Linked DNA regions of Homo sapiens: region 2 is linked to region 1. The links are contacts of gene promoters, found by promoter capture Hi-C in blood cells and fetal thymus (Javierre and others, 2016). All regions are on one chromosome and are shown on one strand. Each heading gives the region's core, a stretch centred on a gene start or on the middle of the fragment in contact. The rest is flanking DNA. Distances are from core to core; before and after follow the strand shown. Region 1 holds the start of SLC6A9 (solute carrier family 6 member 9). Region 2 overlaps PTPRF (protein tyrosine phosphatase receptor type F).

What was found. The method cuts DNA at HindIII sites, captures the fragments that hold promoters and counts their contacts. A CHiCAGO score of 5 or more calls a contact.
Region 2: a contact is called between a fragment that was not itself captured here and the fragment with the promoter of SLC6A9 in region 1, in 3 of 17 cell types (naive B cells, total CD4 T cells and naive CD8 T cells). The highest score is 6.9, in naive B cells.

The regions. Positions count from the first base shown.
Region 1 is chr1:44,026,326-44,032,838 of GRCh38, reverse strand. It overlaps SLC6A9 (solute carrier family 6 member 9), which reads left to right and starts at 1,377. Exons shown (of 14, transcript NM_001024845.3): 1 at 1,377-1,533. LOC107984948 (a long non-coding RNA gene) reads right to left here and starts at 2,425. Exons shown (of 2, transcript XR_007066054.1): 1 at 2,290-2,425. LOC124904168 (a long non-coding RNA gene) reads left to right here. Exons shown (of 4, transcript XR_007066055.1): 4 at 112-296. RefSeq lists silencers at 1,836-1,905, 2,226-2,775 and enhancers at 1,647-2,243, 2,885-3,442, 3,443-4,002. The HindIII fragment of the contact is 12,509 bases long and covers 1-4,510 here.
Region 2 is chr1:43,540,517-43,547,109 of GRCh38, reverse strand. It overlaps PTPRF (protein tyrosine phosphatase receptor type F), which reads right to left. Exons shown (of 34, transcript NM_002840.5): 3 at 1,944-2,079. The coding sequence starts at 2,034. Among named protein-coding and RNA genes, the nearest start is that of PTPRF, 13 kb to the right of the region's middle. The HindIII fragment of the contact is 9,596 bases long and covers 1-6,593 here.

The DNA of each region.
Region 1 (6,513 bases), core at 128-2,627:
TGCACTTGGCTTGTAGGAGACTAAAAATCCCAAACATGCTATACCTACTAGGTTTGGGGACAAAGTAAAAGTGAAAATAATCTCGCTGATAAGACTAAGGTGTCTTCCCAGATCTGATCAGGAGTCCAATGTGAATAGGAGACAACAGAGAGCTGTCTTTGTACTTTGGCTCTGAGGAAGGTTTGTGGAATGGACCGCGTGTGGCCTGAGAGAGCTCGCATTTCAGGGAATGCCTGGGCTTGATGCCTGTTATCTTGTTCAGTGCCTCTGATAAATTAATAAACTGGAATCTCACTCAACAATTGGTTTCACGTGAGTTTGGCATGTGTGCACTCGCTTCTTGGAGGCTGACTGTCCCAAGGAAAAAAATTAAACTGTTTCCTGGCCAGAAAATGGTGAGGACTCAGGGTCCAAAGTAGAAATTGCCTCTGTGGGCTGGGCCCCTTCCCTGAGCAGATGCCCTACTCAGGTTGGGGCAAAAACCAGTTCCTCTGACAGAACTAACTGGCCACTCTCCATGAAAGGTGGTGGCTCTCACAAGGTATGCAAATGTGGGAGGCTCATTCCAAATGCCAGCCACCACTCCCCAGAGGCAGCCTGGAGCAATGGGCTTTATATACACACACATGCATTTCCTTAGCCCCTTCTCTCTGTTTCACAGAGGAGGAAACCGAGGCTCACCATGCTCCTTTTGGCAAAGACTCTTTTTTAGCTGAGATTGTAACCCAGGTCTGTCTCACCATGGAAGGAGGAGGGATCCCAGGTTGGTGTCTGCAGCCCCTGTAACACCACCTCAAAAGTAGAGCTGACCAAGCCGGTGGTCCAGGAGGGAAATTTGAGAAAGGGCTACCCCGAGCCCTCCAGTTCCAAGGAGTAGGACCTAGGCCTTACCCAGCAATGCCCACAGTCTCTAGCGGCTCTGCTCCAAAGGGAATGGAATTTGCTCTGACTTCTCTCTAGGGGAAACGCAGGCGCAGAAGGCCAGGGGCCTGGAGGGCTAACTCCAGCCTCAGCCCCCCATAGTGCCCCAGGCCTTCTGGCTTCATTCCAGCCTAGCCCGAAGGGGCCCACATCTGCTTGCTCAAGGGCCCCAGCTGGAGGGCAGCGAGGCAGGGGCGGAGAAGGGGACTCCTTTGTGGCGCTCACTCCCAGGGGTTCGTGGGGATCAATCATCTGAAAGCTGGAGAGACTTGTAATTTTATTCCCTGGGAGGAGGAGCCTGAGAAGTCGGCACGGGAGGAGGGGATGGGATGGAGAGGGGAGGACGGCCAGGGGAGCCGTTCGGGTAGGGGAGGGACTTGGCTAGATCTCCCAAGCCTTCTCCACTCTTCAAACTTTCACCAAACTCTTAGCCCCCGCCTCCCCGAAACCAAAACACAACAGGCTGTGGAAGAGCTGCGAGCGGCGCGGCGGGGCGGGCGAACTCGGCGCGGCACAGAGCCTCGGGAGGCTGATGCAACTTTCCCTTTAAGAAAGCCACCTGGGCGCACCGCGGTGCGGACCCAGCACGCCTGGGCCGGGGGCTGCAGCATGGTAAGGGGGCTGGGGGAAGGGACGCTGGGGCCCGCGCCTCCGTCTGTCCTGCCGTCGGTCTGAGTGTTCGGCGGCTCCGCGGGGCTGAGCCCCAGGACCAGCGTGTGCGTGTGTGTGTGTGTGTGTGTGTGTGTGTGTGATCGCGCATGTATGCGGGCATCTGTGGGTAAGAGTGTGGGTGCACGCACCGGGATGTCTGTCTCGCCGCAAAGATCGGGGTAGGTGCGCGCGTCTGGGTGTCACCGCTGTCACCAAGGAGCTGAAGCGGGAGGGAGAGGGAAGTGGGGGGAGCTCCTGCGTGGGGTGGCGGGGGGGCGCCAGACGCCGGTTCGATCGGGGGCGGCGGGCGCAGGCTGTGCGGGTAGCGCCGGAGCCAGAGCGTGGCACTGTCCGTCCGAGGAGCCAGTGGTTCTGCGCTCTGGGGGCCTGCAGGGGTCGACAGTCGGCCGTGCCTGCACCCAGCGTGCGGGCTCCCGCTCGCTCCATCGCCTCTCAGCGCCCGCCAGCCTGGCTGCCTATCTGGCCCCTCCAGCCGGCCTGCCTCCCTATCTGCCCTCCCGGTGCCGGTTCCAGTGCCCGTGCGCCCGCGGGACCCGGGAAGCCGCGCGGGAGAGTCCTGGCGCACTCAGCCTCTCTTTGTCCGCGCTCTGGCCGCGGCTTTGGGAAGGGACTGCGAGCGAGCCGGGAGTTCTCTGGGGGTTGCTACCCTGGGAAGAATCCGTGCCCTCCCCACCCCAACCCTCATTACCGGCACACCTAGGGCGGGGCCGGGCGGCCGCAGGTGAGGGCAGGGGCCTAGCAGCCCTGGAGAGCCCACCCCCGGCCGGCGCTCCGCACCCGGCAGCCACTGCAGATCTCGAGCAGGCGGCGGGGCCGGGCCGGGCGGGAGAGTGGGGCTTGCCCGGAGGGCCGGGAGGGGCCGGTGCCGGCCCGGGGGCGGGGCCGTGGGGCGGGGACCTCGGCGCCCCGGTACTTTTCCACCGCAGGGGCCGGGGGCGGGGCCGCCGCCTCCACGCCAGCTTAGGCCCACACGTGGCGGCTGATGTAACGCCCGTGCCCCCACATCTCTCTCCCCGATTAAAGCGGACGCGCCCCACTTCGAGGAACCGGGACGCTGCGGGCGGTGCCGCTGCTCCCAGACCGACCGCGCCCCTGCCCGCCGGCCGGAGGCCTCCGCGCCTCGGGCCGGCGGATACTTAAAGGAGCCGCACCCCCTTTCGGGCCTGCTCTCCGCAAGCCACACCCCCTCGCGGATCACTCTTAAAGGAGACGGGACGCTTGCTCGCTGACAGCTTCCGCACAAAGCGCGGTCTATTTCTCCGCTGAAAGGAGCGTGAGGGTGCGGCCGTTGGGAAATAAAGGCTGCAGGGCGAGGAGTGGGGAAAGAGAAAAACCTGAAAGGTTAAAGACTGCCAAAGTGAGGGAGCATCAGAAGGTTGGAGAGTAGTGGGTGAGGGGACTGGTTCTAGGGACTAATGGGCGACACTGAGCATGCCCAAGTGTTTCCAAGGACCGCAGAGAAAACGCCCCCTTTACTTGGCCTATGCGGCGACTGCGGCTGTACCTGCTCAGTTCCCGGCTCTGGGGACACAGAAGAATCACGCCTCTGCCCTGGTAGAACTCTCCATCTAGTGGGGAGCCAGACTTGGGCACAAGGAAGCATGCCTCAATTGCTACGTGTGGCAAGCGTGGGGGTACAGTAGGAAGGCTGACAGCAACGGGGAGGACCTAGGAAGGCTTCATGAAGATAATAGCATTGGGATAGGTTTTGAGGATGGGTAGGATACATACAGGTGGAAGTGGAGACAAGGGTGCTCAAAAAACATGGAACGGGTGCCGGGGCAAAGGCATGAAGCAGGAGCCCTCTGCAAGTGCTGGGTAGTCTCACGTGGCGGCAGATGGCCGCAGGCTGCTGACCTGGGCTCCCAGGTAGAACTAAGGGCTGTTTCCTGCTCCCACAGCTCCTCCACTTCCTCCAACACAGTGAATGGAAATTATGCTTCTTCCTCTGTCTACTAAACTGTGCGGTCCTTCAAGCTAGGAAAAGAGCCTGTCACCTTTCCATCCCCCGTGAGGACTCCAGGGCTTGGCCAAGATGGACCGTTAAAACTGATTGACCTGACAGTCCTGTCTGATACTCAGCGGTGAGACTGTCAAGGTGGGCCAGGGTTCTGTGGCTGATGTCTCAACATCTGGCTCACAAGCAGCTCAGACCAGCTTGTCCAAGCCAGCCCTCCTGTCCCCGCACCAAACCTGCAGCCTCACCAGCATTCGTCCTCTGGGTCGGGCACCGGTTTCCTCCCACTGCACCAGCAGAAACCAGAGACTCCTTCTTATCCCTCCCCCTACCCAGTCCGATTCATCACCAAGTCTCGCCATGTTGCCTTTTATATTTCTCTGAAATCTGTGCACCTCTCCTCACCCTATTGTCACCTTCCTAACCTGAGCCCCTTCATTTTTGGCCTGGCTCCTTCCTTCCTTCCTTCCTTCTTTCCTTCCTTCCTTTCTTTCTTTCTCTCTCTCTCTTTCTTTTTTCTTTTTCTTTTTCTTTTGACGGAGTTTTGCTCTTGTTGCCCAGGCAATAGTGCAATGGCACAATCTTGACTCACTGCAACCTCTGTCTCCCAAGTTCAAGCAATTCTCATGACTCAGCCTCCTGAGCAGCTGGGATTACAGGTGCCTGCCACCACGCCCAGCTAATTTCGTATTTTTAGTAGAGACAGGGTTTCTCCATGTCGGTCAGGCTGGTCTCGGACTCCTGACCTCAGGTGATCCACCCACCTCGGCCTCCCAAAGTGCTGGGATTACAGGTGTGAGCCACCGCGCCCAGCCTGGCCTGGCCCATTTCTAATTGACTTCCTCTCTTCAACTTCAGCCTCCCTCCAGTCCTTTCTCCACACTGTATCTAGGGGGATGGTTTCAAGATGCACATTCCACCAATGGCTCCTCCTTGAAGTTGATCTTCTGCTTAAAAGCTTTCAATAGGCACCCTTGCCCTCAAGATGAAGACCAAAATCCAGACCCCAAAGGCCCTGGCCAGGCCTCTCTGTCCACTTTAATCTTTGACCATTTCCCCCTGACTGTCTGAGCTCCAGCCTCAGAGCCTTTCCACATATTGTTCCATTTGCTTGACTCTCTCTTCCTCTTCTCTTCCTCATTATTGCCACTTTGCCTAATTAACTTCTTTAGACCCTTAAACATCACTTCATCAGGGAAGCCCTCCCCTAGTCTTACACAAGGCCAGGCCCCCCTATTGTAGAGTCTCATAACACAATCTTTGTCTTTTACACCCTTTATCTCAGTAGGCAGTTCTTTATTTTTTATTTTTTGAGATAAGAGTTTCACTCTTTTTGCCCAGGCTGGGGTGCAATGGCGTGACCTCGGCTCACTGCAACCTCTGCCTCCTGGATTCAAGTGATTCTCCTGCCTCAGCCTCCCAAGTAGTTGGGATTACAGGCGCCTACCACCACGCCCAGCTAATTTTGTGTTTTTAGTAGAGACGGGCCTTCACCATGTTAGCCAGGCTGGTCTCGAACTCCTGACCTCAGGTGATTTGCCTGCCTTGGCCTCCCAAAGTGCTAGGATTACAGGCGTGAGCCACCACTCCTGGTCTCAGTTTGTAATTCTTTAAATTTTAGTCATTGGTTTAACTCTTGCCCCTTAGTCTGTAAGCTGCAGGAGTGCAGATACCTTTGAGTTCTTGGTGCCTAGCACAGGTCTGGTCCAGAGCAGACCTGCAATCAATATTGTGGAATAAATGAGTCCAGCTGTGGCCAGCCTTAAACGCCTGCTAAGCAATTTAGGCCATATCCTGTTGGCTGTGGAAAACTGTTGGAGAGAATCAGGGATTTAGGGCTTTGGGAAGATTAACAGATTGGAGGGGAGGAACATGTGGAGGGCTTGTGGAAAGGATAAAAATTAGGCAGAAACTTCAGAACTTACGAGGAAACTACTGTTAGCCCCATCTTCCAGACTGAGAAAACTAAGGCTCAAAGAGGTTAAGTAACTTACTCGAAATCACATACCTGGTGAGTAGCTGAGCCAGAAATCCAGCCCAGGCCTACCAGATCCCAGAGCCTGAGCTCTTTATCATGTGCTAAACTGCCTCTGTGACCCACTACTGCTTGTCAACAGTGGCCCACAAGTGCTTCAGGGGCATGTGTGGGGCCTGGTGTTGTGGATCTTCCACACGTAGAAGAGACTGGACGCCACGGGCAATCAGTTGGTGTTTTCTGAATGGACGGATGGGACCATGTAACAGGAATGTCAAAGGCAGGAGAAGCAGCAAAGCTTTACACCCAGCTCATTCTCCTGGAAGCCGCCATGAAGCAGTCTTTTCCCTCCAGTCCACGAACTACCTGAGGGCAGGGACTGCATTTGCAGTCAGAAATGTCAGAGTCAGAGATGTAGGGTCTGAAAACCTAGTTCAAGTCCTCACTCGAGCACTTACAAGGAAGGCATGTGACCTCTCCGAGTCTGTCTCTCTGATGGTAATAGGAGGAATTGGAGGAATTCCAGGATAACCTGGGTGAGGGCCCTCTGCAGCCTAAGTTCTGAGACACAGTGTCCTCAGTTTACTTACCTGACCAGCGGGCTTAATAATTTCCAACCTGTGACGTGGCTTTTTTGTGGCTCTTTTTTTTTTTTTAGACAATGTCTTGCTCTGTCGCCCAGGCTGGAGTACAGTGGTGTGATCTCGGCTCACTGCAATCTCTGCCTCCCAGATTCAAGCCATTCTCCTGTCTCAGCCTCCCGAGTAGCTGGGACTACAGGCGCATACCACCATACCTGGTTAATTTTTATATTTTTAGTAGAGACGGGATTTCGCCATATTGGTCAGGCTGGTCTTGAACTCCTGACCTCAGGTGATCCGCCCGCCTCGGCCTCCCAAAGTGCTGGGATTACAGCCGTGAGCCACTGCTTCCAGCTGACATGGCTCTTTCTAATGCCATCTGCTGTTATTACTATCATCATTGTCAT
Region 2 (6,593 bases), core at 3,512-6,011, 490 kb after region 1:
GGGCCTGGGGGTGGGAGGGAATGAAGGATTCTAAACTGAAGAGTGACAGGATGATGTTTTCACCTTGTGACACGACTCTACCTTTGGAATGCAGAATGGATTAGGAAGGAAAAGACTGGAGGCAGGGAAACCGTCAGGAGGCTGTTGCGTGCAAAAGCCCAAGAGCCGAGGGTGGCTTGGATGAAGGCGGTAGAGAGAGAAGTGGATGCATTCCAAAGATATTCAGAAGGTAGAAGCAACGGAGCTTGGTGATGGATTAGATGTGGGATATCACGGAGGGAGGAGGCTGGAGGAGGCCCAGGTTCTGACTTGGGTGACCGGGTGGGTGGTAATGCCTTTCACGGGAGAGAACACGGGAAGACAGCAGGCTGGGGGATGAGAGTGAGGGGTACAGGTTGGGGCGCGTTGGGTCTGAGGCAGGAGGAGGAGGGCAGCTCTTCTCCCAGGATGTGTTATCTGTTGAAGCCCAACTGGGCCATCCTTCCCCTGCCCTAGAGCTCCTGTCTGAAGGCCCTGAAAGTGCCTGGGGTTGGGTCGGCGGGGAGGGCAAGGACAGTACTTCAATGTCCAAGAGCTACTGACCACACGTGGACAAGCCTTCACCTTCCTGCCAACCATGTGGGTCACACCTGATAAGGCTTTCTACTCCAACCTGCCCCTGCAGGTTCCAGCCAGGCCTGGAGATCCCCTGCCCCACTTCCCCATGTGATTCCCCACCTGTCTTTTTTCCTTGCTCTCACCTGCCCAGCCCTCTCTTTGGTACCTGGTGCTCCCATGACCCTTTGCCCCACCCCTTGGGAATGCCTGCCCCTTCTCCTTTCCCTTCTAGCTCCACCCAGGACCCAGCACTTGAGGACAAAGGGCGGGACCACACCAGTCCCACCCCACTCCAGAATCAGTTCCTGAATAATTAATGAGCCATTAGGAGAAAGAGCCCTGGTGGGGCAAGGGGAGAGATCTGTACCCAGAGATACGGAGGCAGGTGGGGGAGCCCTATGGCCTGGTGACCCGTGGGCTGACCCCAGGGTTGGCCCTGGATCACCCCTGGGCTCTGGACAGGCTGGGAACGGCCCCTTCCCCCAGGGACCTTGGCTCCGACCTCGCCCCTCCCCCTCAGCCTGCAGATTGGCTAAATCTGCCCTGTGCCCCGCCTCCCACCAGTAACCAAGGAGTGGTAACCATGGCGATGGGGCGGGCTGAGGCCAGTCTCATAGTGCCAGGCAGGGGGAAGGGCAGCAGGAAAGGGACCAAAGTTCGGAGTTGGATCTGGATGGGGACAATTCCACCTCCCTCCAACACAAACACACACAGAGGGGCGTTGCTCAGCTTCCTGCCGGCCAAACACAATCTTCCCCCCATTTCCAGGTCTGAGGAGCTGGGGTGGGGGGATGCTCCTTTGCCTAGAAGGTCCCCATGAAAGGAGAAGGAGGGGCTCAGATCTGCATACTTGGATCCTGAGGGTCCAGCGTAGGGGAAGAGCTATGGGTGGCTCCCGCTTTTGACCCTCCTTGGGCCTATGGACACACCCGCGTCCTGGGCACACATCCATACGCATGCCCTGCGTGCCACCCCCCATTCCCATGCCGACCCCTGGCTGTAGCTCACACTGTGCCTTCAGCACAGATCTGCAACAGTGCACACAGCACACACACGCGCACATCACACAATGACCACATGAATCCAGGACAGGTCTCACCCCAGCCCCATAAGACAGGGTCACGATTCGACTGCCCCGCTCTGGTGCCTAAAGATGCTCCTAAGTACCCAGGTATTCCTTAGAAGGAGGCTCTCCAAGCAGTGGGGGCTCTCTAGGACAGAAGGTCTAAAGGGTTTCTGGCCACCCTGTCTCTCCTAGTAGCCGGTCTGTCCCCATCCCAGAGTCCTGCTGGGAAGGATGCCACCTTTCAACCTGGGAGATCTGTACCTTGAGGGGTCAGACTTACTGTCACCATGGGCGCCTGCCACCAAACCAAGCATCACCAGTGCAGGCACAAGGGGCACCATCGTCCTCCCTGGGGCTGGCTCAGGGGCCATCCAGGGCTCTAGCTCCACAGCCAGCCACAGCCCAGGACAATCAACCTGTAATGGAGAGAAGGGCAGAGCCAGTTAGCTGGTATTTACTGCTGTCCCTAATGCCCACCCCTGACGCTTTCTGACCCCCAGTCATCCTCACTGACCATCCAGAGCCTAGTTCAACAGAGCCCCCCACTTGGGCTGTGCAATGACCACCTAGACCTTCTGACCCCAGTGACCACCCAAGCTCCTCACTTATTCCCCAGCACCCACAAGGACAGCCCAACAGTCACGGTGGAGGGAGAAAGAGCGCAGGAGGCCTTCGGGCCATTCTCTAAACCTGAGTAGGAGGTACAGGGAGTGAGTGAGACCAGAGGATGTACAGTGTGTTCCAGTCCAAACCTTGAGCTTCTAACTCACCCCCATAAGAGGACAGGGAAACAGGGTCAGAGAGACGCTTACGTGGGACAGAGGACAGAGAGACAAGACAGTGACAAGGAGCAGTGAGGGGCAAAGCCAACTGACTCTGGAGTCTCCCTGGTAGAATTCTGTTGCCCCTCCTCTCCCCAGCAGGGAGGGAGAAGGTGGGAGGCCAGACTCCACGAGCACGCTGAGCACAGGCCCCTGAACACAGGCTTGTTAGCAGAAGACAGGCTCCAGGTATCAGAGGCTTCCAGCCAAAGCCACAACCCCTCAGTGCTCACCAGGACGTGCTCTTGACAAGCTGCTGCTGCCCTGCCTGGCCACCCTCGTCCTACCCATTCCCATGGCACCTTCCTACTTCACAGAGAAACCACAGGGAGGCCTCAGTGGCCAGGAATGGGGTGTTAGACCCTAGAATTCAAACCTCACATCTCTTCTGCCCTTGCCCCAGAAGCCCGGAGCCAAACAAGTGTAGGGATGATGGGGTGTGAACCTCAGGGGCTGATGTTTGAGACAGGAAGCTATGCACAAAAAGACTGAGTAGCGTCTGGGACTGGCTGAATGCCCCTAGGCCTTTACTTCCAAGGCTCCTGGCCTGAAGTGCCTGCAGGCACCTGGGTGAAGCCTCTAGCATGGCCGCACTATACATGGGAGATACGCTGCTATCACTCCCTGGCCCCACTGGTGAGCTCCCCAGGGTCTCTCTCCCATACCCCTCACCTGGGGGGCACCAGGGGATGTATGGAAGGGCCCACAAGCTCTGATCACACCATGCTCTGGGCAGAGGGGTGAGACGTGGTCGATCCCTCATGAATGCTGTGAAGACGCAACAGAGCAGAGTGCATGACGGTGAACACGCCTTGGGGCCCCACAGTGATACGCATGGACTTTGATAGGGGAGTTGTGATCAGACCCAGGTCCCCGCTGACCCACAATAGTAAGAGAATTTGCAAGGTGACAGGGCAGGTGACCAGGAATGGGCAGGGCTCAAAGGTGCTCCAGTCGTTTCTGAAATTTGAACCCTTGTCTCAACTGAGATAATCAAAGTTCATGAGGTCAGAAGGCAGCAGTTGAGCAAAGGTGTTGGACAAAGCAGGTGGGAATGCAAAGTGGGATGGGGCCAAACACAAAGGAAAAGGGGTGAGAGTTGTCCCCTGTCCCAGGATCCCACCAAAAATCTGAGACAGGAGCTGAACAACAAAGTAAGAACGGTGAAGGGTGTCCAGCCTTCATTTACACCAGTTCTTCAAGTAAGAACGTTGATAGGTGTCCAGCCCCATTTACACCAAGCTGGGGATGGATCTGCTCCACGATCCCAGAGCTGAGGTGGCTGAGACCACAATGACGCCTGCAAGGCCACAGTGGGATGGAGGTCACACATCACCAAGGCCCTGCCTGAGCTTGCGCTATGGTGCCACATGCAGCCAACGATGGAGCACCTTCCCAGCGGCCATCAGGTGGTGGACTATGAGTGGCTCTTCCTCCCTGGGCCTGTGGACACATCTGGTATCCTATGCCAGGCCAGGTCATCATGGGGGTATGGTCCCCTGATGGACCATCCTGGAGCCCCTGAATGAGACACATGAGTTTATAACTCAACAGCTGTGTTGCACCAAAGGACAGGGCACAGTGGCCTCGTACCGGCATCATCGGGTATAACAATATAATAGTCACAGAGGTTAACTTCCAGGAACAAGCATTCCAAGCATGCAACCCCTGCCAGGCAGGCTTCATAGGGACATAGGCCCCCAGCATGAGCATATCTCCCTGCTATGAAAATAAAATGCACAGCACCGTCATCATGGGATATAGCTCCCCAGTACAATGAGCAGAGGCTTAATCCCCTGTAGCCGCCTTGGTGCAGTAATCATAGCAGTATAACGCCCAGGTGCAGACATCATGGAGGTGTAATGGTGTGGTCTAGACATCACGTGGGCGGACACAGAGGGTACAGACATCATGGAGTGCAGCTGCCTGATAAGGACATTACAGGGGTGCAACTCCCCATACATTAGCAGAGGTGTAACGTGCTGTTACAGACTTCATGGTGGGGGCAGAGCTCCCAGGAGAGCCATCATGGGGGTAAAACTCCCAGAATAGACACCCATGTGGTACAAGCCTGGATGAGAGTCTGGCCATGGGTGTTGGAGAACTTGGGCCTCAGGTAACCCTACCCCCAACGTGGGGCCTCCAGAAACCCCCTGTGTATCTGGGTTGGGGTGCTCAGGACACTTTGTTCAGATCCAGAAAGTAGAACAGAGAGCTTCTTCCAGTGGTCCATGATGGACACAAGGACACAGATGCCCAGGGAGATGGGGAAACACAAGGGACACACACAAACACATTCTCAGGCAACTACTCTGGCAGCCACACAGCTGTACGAGCCAGGGCCTCTCCCTCACCAGCTCCTGGCGAGAGCAAGCTGCCTCCCGCCCTGAGACTCCGGGCACAGAGCCTGCCCTGGTGTCAGGCGGTTCAGGCCACTCCCAGCTCCAGGGCCTCCCTCATCAGAGCAGAGCAGCCCTGGATCCCCAGGCCTGGCCTCAAGAGTAGACCTTGGCCCCCAGAGTCCCAGGGTCCCAGGGTCACCTGTGGGGAGAAGGTGGGAGAGGAACAAGGGGCAGGGCTGCTGCTAGCCTGACTGCGGTTGCGAGGTTGAGCATCTTGTGAATCCATGCAACGGTGTTCACAGCAGAACACCCACTTCACCAGCATGGCTGGGTGAGCCTGGGCTTTCAACAACCGAGATAAAAACAAGGCCGGAGCACTGGGGCACTCAAGCTCGTCTCTGAATTGCACTGTGGACCATCCGTTCTGCCAAGCTGACATACTTGGGCAGGAACACAATTACATACGGTATGATATTATAGAATATAATTGGACACAATTTTTCCACATTCAGAATGGTTTTAATATATCCTTTTCCTTTGCTACGTCAGTGTAAAGCTGCCAACTGCCCTTTCTTGGGAAGAACTGTCCTTTATTCTCAAATATTGTCCTTGGTGTTAAAATGTTCTTTCCTGTATGAAATGATGGGGACAGCAGATAGCAGTTGTTTTTTTATAATGCCTTTACTTGGCAAAATAAAAAATTGCCAACCCCATGTCTGGCTCTTGAGTACTTTTGGAAATTGTATTGGTTCGTGAAACCAAAGAGCCTGGGAATCACTGCTTTGAGGGAAAAGGAAGAAGCAGGCACTAGACCAAGCCACAGCATTCGCATATGAACGTCACAGAAGATTCACGTTGCAAAACACAGAAGCCATGTCACCTCCATGCAGCCCACCCTAACCACCCTGCCAGCCTCTGTGGGGGCCCAAGGGACCATGTGATGGGGGCTTCCCTGGCTGGAGAACAGCTGGGATCATTCCTGAGTCCTCATCATAAATACGCAAACACAGATTGATTTGTTTTCCTTGGGCATGCATTATTATTCACAAATATTAATTAGTCTCCAAATACCACCTGTTTCTGTAGCCTCCCCCATCTCACCTCCCCAGGCCAGGACCCTGGGGCCCAGAAATGGACATGAGCAGAAGGAGGGGTATCCAGGGCCCTACAGAGCAGACGGCCAAGAGGAAAGGCCAGCACTTGGGCAACAGGAAGGGAAGAGCCTGTCGGCAGGGAGAGCTCTGAGCCGTTCATCTTCTAACCAGCGGGCAGCTAACCGAGCCCTTTTGTCATGTCCTGGACAGTTCACCGCGTGGCACTGCAGCAGCGGCCGCGGAGGCGGAAACAGGCCTTGTTATACTTGGGAAGGGAAAACCAACATGTTTCCAGCTCTCACCAAACCAACCACTGGATTATGACGGGAATAAATTATAGTCTCAGCCAGGACCCCTGACCCAGGGAAGGAGGGGCCTGTGGGGAAGAGGGTGAGGCCGCCTTCCCTCCTCCAGCCAGTTGGCCAGAATCCGTGAGCAGAGCCAGGAACAGCCCTCCCTCCCACGGCTGGTATCGGGGCTCCCACCAGCTGGACTGAGTCCCACCCTGTTGCAGCTCTCAGTTTCTCCATCTCACTGAGGAGTGGAGGGGGAGATTAGGAGGAGTGTCGCAGAGACTTGGAGGCGGCAAAGGGTCAGCAGGAGACTAACTCTGGAGGCAAATGACCAAAGGGGACCAGCAGAGGTATCTTCCTGCGGCTGTAACCCCTAAGCC